2 separate regions of the Homo sapiens genome follow, and region 2 is linked to region 1. Evidence: promoter capture Hi-C in human tissues and cell types (Jung and others, 2019). All regions are on one chromosome and are shown on one strand. The core of a region is centred on a gene start or on the middle of the fragment in contact, and the rest is flanking DNA. Distances in the headings are between cores, read along the strand shown. Region 1 holds the start of TRIM7 (tripartite motif containing 7). Region 2 has its middle 16 kb from the start of BTNL8.

Region 1 (2,576 bases), core at 1-2,500:
AGGCGATGGGCCTACTTTCCACCGTGAACTGCGGCTCCTCTTTTGAATTTCGAACCAAGTTTAATCCAAGAAAACCTTACTGAGCTTGCCAAGAACTGCTCTAAAAACAGGATTCAGCCGTGAACAAACCTAGTACAGTCCATCTGAAAGCTGACATTCCAGAGGAGATAGAGTGCGGGCACAGAGCCGGCCCTGAGAAGGGAGCGCGCTAAGAGACGACTTTACACAGTGTGCGCGTTCGGGGCGGGCTTCGTGGGCAGAGACGTTTGAAACAAGACCTGAATGAGGTGGGAGGGAGCATGCAGGTGGTGGGAGAAAAGAGGTCCACGCAAGGGGAACAGCCAGCGCAGAGGCCACGGGGTTCAGGAACAGCAAGAAGATCGGGGACACTGGGTCCTGGAAGGCCCTGAGAAGGGAAGTCGGGAAGGAGGGAGCATCCGGGGGCAGATGAGGTGAGGCGAGGTCTTCGCCTTTGGGTGAGAATTGCTGAAGTTCCCGGTGACATTGGCAAGGGCGGTTTCTGAGGAGGGTGCGGGCGAAAGCTTGATCCAAGTGGCCTCCAGAGTGAGCGAGGAGAGAGGGTGTGGAAGCGGATAACACAGGCAGCTCTGCTGCGGGGCTGTGGAGACAGCTGGGGGACAAGAGAGCGCTGAGGTTTGTGTGTGTGTGTGTGTGTGTGTGTGTGTGTGCGGTGGGGGGGGAATAATACTGAATACAATGGGAAATTATAAATGTGTTATCTGTTCAAATACTAAGTAAAGAGTAAAGAAGCCGGAGGACAGTCGCAGAAAAGGTAATGGAATGGATACAAGGCCACGCTTGCGCGTGAGGGGACAGGACCAGGTTCCAGTCTCTAAATTTAACTCAGCACAGGGCCGGGGCGAACCTGCGCTGGCGGAACCTGACACCGTGGCCCGAGCGCCAGGCCCTTGCCCCGGCGATGCTGGGTCGGCCTCGGTCGGAAACCGGGAGTGGCGCTGGCAGCATTTGTGCGCCCACCTGTCGCGGCCCGTTTCCCGCGGCTGACTGGGTCAGGCTGGGGCGGCCTGGAGAGTCTGAGGGACGGGGGCGAGGGGGAGAGGCCGCTGGCCAGGGCGGGGGCTGGTGGAGCGCAGATCCGGGGCGCAGGGCGCTGTCCCGCACTTGAATGGCCCGTAGTCAACGTGCGCCTCCCCTCCCGGCTCCCAGCCGGGCGCGCCCCGGGCTCGAGTCTCTGCCTGCCCAGTGGCAGCCCCGCCCTTCCTCTCCCAGTGGGCCCTCGGCGCCCAGCTCCGCGTCCTGTGAGGTCCAGTGGCCGCCCAGGCGCGACCAGATCTGGGTGCGCGGAGAGCGCGCATGGCGGCTGTGGGACCGCGGACCGGCCCCGGAACCGGCGCCGAGGCTCTAGCGCTGGCGGCAGAGCTGCAGGGCGAGGCGACGTGCTCCATCTGCCTAGAGCTCTTTCGTGAGCCGGTGTCCGTCGAGTGCGGCCACAGCTTCTGCCGCGCCTGCATAGGGCGCTGCTGGGAGCGCCCGGGCGCGGGGTCTGTTGGGGCCGCCACCCGCGCGCCCCCCTTCCCACTGCCCTGTCCGCAGTGCCGCGAGCCCGCGCGCCCCAGTCAGCTGCGGCCCAACCGGCAGCTGGCGGCAGTGGCCACGCTCCTGCGGCGCTTCAGCCTGCCCGCGGCTGCCCCGGGAGAGCACGGGTCTCAGGCGGCCGCGGCCCGGGCAGCGGCTGCCCGCTGCGGGCAGCATGGCGAACCCTTCAAGCTCTACTGCCAGGACGACGGACGCGCCATCTGCGTGGTGTGCGACCGCGCCCGCGAGCACCGCGAGCACGCCGTGCTGCCGCTGGACGAGGCGGTGCAGGAGGCCAAGGTGAGCGCAGCCCCCACCCACCCCGTGGGTCCCCGGGACCCCCTGACTTGGTCCCGCGCTCCCGCGCACGGGGTGCAGAGAACAGCCTGTCGATCAGGAGGCCCGGGTGAGCCCCTCCCTTCTTTCTCCATTCCAGGAAGCCCAGCGCTGGTTCCCGGGCTGAGCGCGGTTCTCTGTCACCCCCAACATCACCAATACCCCCACCCCACCCCCACTGCGTTTCCCTCTGGGCCAGATACTGGGCCGCCTGCGCGACGTCCCCCACGGACTTGGCGATGTTCTTCCTGTCTGTTCGGAGCCTCTAGCCTGGTCTGCGTCTCCGCAGCTCTCTGCCCGCGGGAAGTCTCCGGCACAGCCACGCAGCCGCTGCCCCCACTCTTATCTCTTTCCCCGAAGCGGGCTCTGCTCAAAGTCCCCACCTCGTGGAACTGAGTGAGAGGACCTCGCCAAGATGTCCAGGGAGGGGGCTCCCGGGTTAAGCCGCGCACCTAGAGCCGTCTGACTGTGCCAACGCTGTCGATTCTGGGGGCCCTTTCTTTGCTATTTTCTCGCTGAGCCTCAGCGAGGGTGTGTGCAGGGGTGAGGGCGGGGCGGGGAGGCTCGGGCGGCAGTCCCCAGTCTCTCCTTGCTGGCCCATCCTGCTCCAACTCTCCCAGCCACGGGGCTTCCTGGTGGGGGGGCGGAGAGTAGAGGAGACGACTAGGGGTAGGGCTGCCGGA
Region 2 (6,251 bases), core at 14-2,513, 320 kb after region 1:
ACCCCCGTGTAGCCTGACTGGGAGACACCTCCCAGTAGAGGCCAACAGACACCTCAAATAGGTGGGTGCCCCTCTGGGATGAAGCTTCCAGAGGAAGGATCAGGCAGCAATATTTGCTGTTTTGCAGCCTCCACTGGTGATACCCAGGCAAACAGGGTGTGGAGTGGACCTCCAGCAAACTCCAAACAGACCTGAAGCTGAGGGGCCTGACCGTTAGAAGGAAAACTAACAAACAGAAAGGAATAGCTTCAACATCAACAAAAAGGACATCCACACCAAAACCCCATCTGTAGGTCACCAACATCAAAGACCAAAGGTAGATAAAACCACAAGATGGAGAGAAACCAGAACAGAAAAGTGGAAAATTCCAAAAACCAGAGCGTCTCTTCTCCTCCAAAGGATCACAGCTCCTCACCAGCAAGGGAACAAAACTGGATGGAGAATGAGTTTGATGAATTGACAGAAGTAGGCTTCAGAAGGTCAGTAATAACAAACTCCTCCGAGCTAAAGGAGCATGCTCTAACCCATCACAAGGAAGCTAAAAACCTTGAAAAAAGGTTAGACAAATGGCTAACTAGAATAACCAGTGTAGAGAAGACCTTAAATGACCTGATGGAGCTGAAATACACAGCATGAGAACTTTGTGACGCATGCACAAGCTTCAGTAGCCGATTTGATCAAGTGGAAGAAAGCATATCAGTGATTGAAAATCAAATTAATGAAATAAAGCAAGAAGACAAGATCAGAGAAAAAAGAGTGAAAAGAAACAAACAAAGCCTCCAAGAAATATGGGACTATGTGAAAAGACCAAATATACATTTGATTGGTGTACCTGAAAGTGACGGGGGGAATGGAACCAAGTTGGAAAACACTCTTCAGAATATTATGCAGGAGAACTTCCCCAACCTAGCAAGACAGGCCAACATTCAAATTCAGGAAATACAGAGAATACCATAAAGATACTCCTTGAGAAGAGCAATCCCAAGACACATAATTGTCAGATTCACCAAGGTTGAAATGTAGGAAAAAATGTTAAGGGCAGCCAGGGAGAAAGGTCGGGTTACCCTCAAAGGGAAGCCCATCAGACTAACAGTGGATCACTTGGCAGAAACTCTACAAGCCAGAAGAGAGTGGGGGTCAATATTCAACATTCTGAAAGAAAAGAATTTTCAACCCAGAATTTCATATCCAGCCAAACTAAGCTTCATAAGTGAAGGAGAAATAAAATCCTTTACAGACAAGCAAATGCTGAGAGATTTTGTCACCACCAGGCCTGCCTTACAAGAGCTCCTGAAGGAAGCACTAAACATGGAAATGGAAAGGAACAACTGGTACCAGCCACTGCAAAAACATGCCAAATTGTAAAGACCATTGACACTATGAAGAAACTGCATCAATTAACAGGCAAAATAACCAGCTAACATCATAATGACAGGATCACATTCAAACATAACAATACTGACCTTAAATGTAAATGGGCTAAATGCCCCAATTAAAAGACACAGACTGGCAAATTGGATAAAGAGTCAAGACCCATCTGTGTGCTGTATTCAGGAGACCCATCTCACGTGCAAAGACGCACATACGCTCAAAATAAAGGGATGGAGGAAGATCTACCAAGCAAATGGAAAGCAAAAAGAAAAGCAGAGGTTGCAATCCTAGTCTCTGATAAAACAGACTTTAAACCAACAAAGATCAAAAGAGACAAAGAAGGCCACCACATAATGGTAAAGGGATCAATTCAACAAGAAGAGCTAACTATGCTAAATATATATGCACCCAATACAGAAGCACCCAGATTCTTAGAGCAAGTCCTTAGAGACCTACAAAGAGACTTAGACTCCCACACAATAATAATGGGAGACTTTAACACCCCACTGTCAATATTAGGTAGATCAATGAGACAGAAGGTTAACAAGTATATCCAGGACTTGAACAGAGCTCTGGACCAAGCTGACCTAATAGACATCTACAGAACTCTCCACCCCAGATCAACAGAATATACATTCTTCTCAGCACCACATTGTACTTATTCTAAAATTGACCACATAATTGGAAGTAAAAACACTCCTCAGCAAATGTAAAAGAACAGAAATCATAACAAACAGTCTCTCAGACCACAGTCCAATCAAATTAGAACTCAGGATTAAGAAACTCACTCAAAACCACATAAATACATGGAAATTGAACAACCTGCTCCTGAATGACTACCGGGTATGAAATAAAGGCAGAAATAAAGATTTTCTTTGAAACCAATGAGAACAAAGACACAACATACCAGAATCTCTAGGACACATTCAAAGCAGTGTGTAGAGGGAAATTTATAGCACTAAATGCCCACAAGAGAAAGCAGGAAAGATCTAAAATTGACACCCTAACATCACAGTTAAAAGAACTAGAGAAGCAAGAGCAAGCAAATTCAAAAGCTAGCAGAAGACAAGAAATAACTAAGATCAGAGCAGAACTGAAGGAGACAGAGACACAAAAAACCCTTCAAAAAATCAATAAATCCAGGAGCTGGTTTTTTTTAAAAGATCAACAAAATACATAGACCACTAGCAAGACTAATAAAGGAGAAAAGAGAGAAGAATCAAATAGATGCAATAAAAAATGATAAAGGGGATATCACCACCGATCCCACAGAAATACAAACTACGATCAGAGAATACTAGAAACACCTCTACACGAATAAACTAGAAAATCTAGAAGAAATGGATAAATTCCACATACACCCTCCCAAGACTAAACCAGGAAGAAGTTGAATCTCTGAATAGACCAATAACAGGTCCTGAAATTCAGGCAGTAATTAATAGCTTACCAACCAAAAAAAGCCCAGGACCAGACGGATTCAGAGCCGAATTCTACCAGAGGTACAAAGAGGAGCTGATACCATTCCTTCTGAAACTATTCCAAAGAATAGAAAAAGAGGGAATCCTCCCTAACTCATTTTATGAGGCCAGTATCATGCTGATACCAAAGCCTGGCAGAGAAACAACAAAAAAGAGAATTTTAGACCAATATCCCTGATGAACATCGATGTGAAAATCCTCAAGAAAACACTGGCAAACCAAATCCAGCAGCACATCAAAAACTTTGTCCACCACAATCATGTTGGCTTCATCCCTGGGATACAAGCCTGGTTCAACATATGCAAATCAATAAACGTAATCCATCACATAAACAGAACCAAAGACAAAAACCACATGATTATCTCAATAGATGCAGAAAAGGCCTTCAACAAAATTCAACAGCCCTTCATGCTAAATACTCTCAATAAACTAGGTATTGATGGAACGTATCTCAAAATAATAAGAGGTATTTATGGCAAACCCACAGCCAATACCATACTGAATGGGCAAAAACTGGAAGCATTGCCTTTGAAAAGCAGCACAAGCAAGGATGTCCTCTCTCACCACTCCTATTCAACATAGTGTTGGAAGTCCTGGCCTGGGCAATCAGCCAAGAGAAAGAAATGAAGGGTATACAATTAGGAAAAGAGGAAGTCAAATTGTCCCTGTTTGCAGGTAACATGATTGTATATTTAGAAAACCCCATCATCTCAGCCCCAAATCTCCTTAAGCTGATAAGCAACTTCAGCAAAGTCTCAGGATACAAAATCAATGTGCAAAAATCACAAGCATTCCTATACACCAATAATAGACAAACAGAGAGCCAAATCACGAGTGACCTCACATTCACAATTACTACAAAGAGAATAAAATACCTAGGAATCTAACTTACAAGGGATGTGAAGGACCTCTTCAAGCAGAACTACAAACCACTGCTCAACGAAATAAAAGAGGACACAAACAAATGGAAGAACATTCCATGCTCATGAATAGGAAGAGTCAATATCATGAAAATGGCCATACTGCCCAAGGTAATTTATAGATTCAATGCTATCCCCATCAAGCTACCACTGACTTTCTTCACAGAATTGGAAAAAACTACTTTAAAGTTCATATGGAACTAAAAAAGAGCCCGCACAGCCAAGACAATCCTAAGCAAAAAGAACAAAGCTGGAGGCATCACGCTACCTGACTTCAAACTATACTACAAGCCTACAGTAACCAAAACAGCATGGTACTGGTTCCGAAACAGACATATAGACCAATGGAACAGAACAGAGGCCTCAGAAATAATACCACACATTTACAACCATCTGATCTTTGACAAACCTGACAAAAACAAGCAATGCTTAAAGGATTCCCTATTTAATAAATGGTGCTGGGAAAACTGGCTAGTCATATGTAGAAAGCTGAAACTGGATCCCTTCCTTACACTGTATACAAAAATTAACTCAAGATGGAGTAAAGTCTTAAATGTAAGACCTAACACCATAAAAACCCTAGAAGAAAACCTAGGCAATACCATTCAGGACATAAGCATGGGCAAAGACTTCATGACTAAAACACCAAAAGCAAGGGCAACAAAAGCCAGAATTGACAAATGGGATCTAATTAAACTAAAGAGCTTCTGCATAGCAAAAGAAACTATCATCAGAGTGAACAGGCAACCTACAGAATGGGAGAAAATTTTTGCAATCTATCCATCTGACAAAGGGATAATATCCAGAATCTACAAAGAACTTAAACAAATTTACAAGAAAAAAAACCCATCAAAACGTGGGCAAAGGATATGAACAGACGCTTCTCAAAAGATGACATTTATGCAGCCAACAGACATATGAAAAAATGCTCATCATGACTGGTCATCAGAGAAATGCAAATCAAAACCACAATGAGATACCATCTCATGCCAGTTAGGATGGCGATCATTAAAAAGTCAGGAAACAACAGATGCTGGAGAGGATGTGGAGAAATAGGAATGCTTTTACACTGTTGGTGGGAGTGTAAATTAGTTCAACCATTGTGGAAGACAGTGTGGTGATTCCTCAAGGATCTAGAACTAGAAATACCCTTTGACCCAGTGATCCCATTACTGGGTATATACTCAAAGGATTATAAATCATTCTACTATAAAGACACATGCACACTTATGTTTACTGTGGCACTATTCACAGTAGCAAAGACTTGGAACACACCCAAATGTCCATCAATGATAGACTGGATTAAGAAAATGTGGCACATATACATCATGGAATATTATGCAGCCATAAAAAAGGATGAGTTCAAGTCCTTTGCTGGGACATGGATGAAGCTGGAAACCATCATTCTAAGCAAACTATCACAAGGACAGAAAACCAAACACTGCATGTTCTCACTCATAGGTGGGAGTTGAACAATGAGAACACATGGACACGGGGAGGGGAACATCACACAATGGGGCCTGTCGGGGGTGGGGGGGGCTCGGAGAGGGATAGCATTAGGAGAAATACCTAATGTAAATGACGAGTTGATGGGTGCAGCAAACCAACATGGCATGTGTATACCTATGTAATAAACCTGCACGTTGTACACATGTACCCTAGAACTTAAAGTATAATAATAGAAAAAACTAAAATTCCTCTACTTAATAAATGTCATTTATAAAAAAGCCCACAGCTAACACTGTAATCAATGGGGTAAAACTAAAAGCTTTTCCTCTATGATCCAGAACAAGACATAAATGTCCACTCTCACCAATTTTATTCAGAATAGCACTAGAAATATTAGCAAGACCAATCAAACAAGAAAAAGAAATAAAAGGCATCCAAATAAAAAAGATGTGAAACTATCTCTATTTGCAGATAGCATGATCCTATGTGTAGAAAATTGCAAAGATTATACACACAAAAAAAGTAGAGCTAATAAATGAATTCAGTAGAGTTTTAGGATACACAATTAACATATAAAAATCAGTGGCAATTATATAGACTAACAAACAAGTATTTGAAAAAGAAATTAAGAAAAAATCCTATTACGATAGCATCAAAAAATACCTAGGAATAAATTTAACAAGGGGATAAATTTAACAAGGTGATGAAAGATTAGTCTTCAGAAATTTTTAAAACATTGATGAAGGAAATTGAAGAAGACAAAAATGAATTGAAAGATATTCTGTGTTGATGAATGGGAAGAATTAATATTGGTAAAATGTCCACACTACTCAAAGCAATATACAGATTTAATGCAATCTCTATCAAACTTCCAATGGCATTGTTTATGGAAATAGAAAAAACAATTCTAAAACCTATATGGAGCCAAAATAACCCAAATAGCAAAAGCAATACTGAGAAAGACAAACAAAGCTGATGGCTTTACACTTCCTAATTTAAAATTGTATTATAAAGCTAGAGTAATAAAAACAGT

The links. The method cuts DNA at HindIII sites, captures the fragments that hold promoters and counts their contacts. A contact is called where the count stands out against the background at its distance.
Region 2: a contact is called between a fragment that was not itself captured here and the fragment with the promoter of TRIM7 in region 1, in 2 of the 25 tissues and cell types used here (pancreas and spleen).

The regions. Positions count from the first base shown.
Region 1 is chr5:181,203,870-181,206,445 of GRCh38, reverse strand. TRIM7 (tripartite motif containing 7) reads left to right here and starts at 1,250. Exons shown (of 7, transcript NM_203293.3): 1 at 1,250-1,857. The coding sequence starts at 1,336. RefSeq lists silencers at 972-1,291, 1,552-1,881, 1,922-1,991. The HindIII fragment of the contact is 13,460 bases long and covers 1-2,576 here.
Region 2 is chr5:180,879,613-180,885,863 of GRCh38, reverse strand. No RefSeq gene overlaps it. Among named protein-coding and RNA genes, the nearest start is that of BTNL8, 16 kb to the left of the region's middle. The HindIII fragment of the contact is 4,215 bases long and covers 1-3,370 here.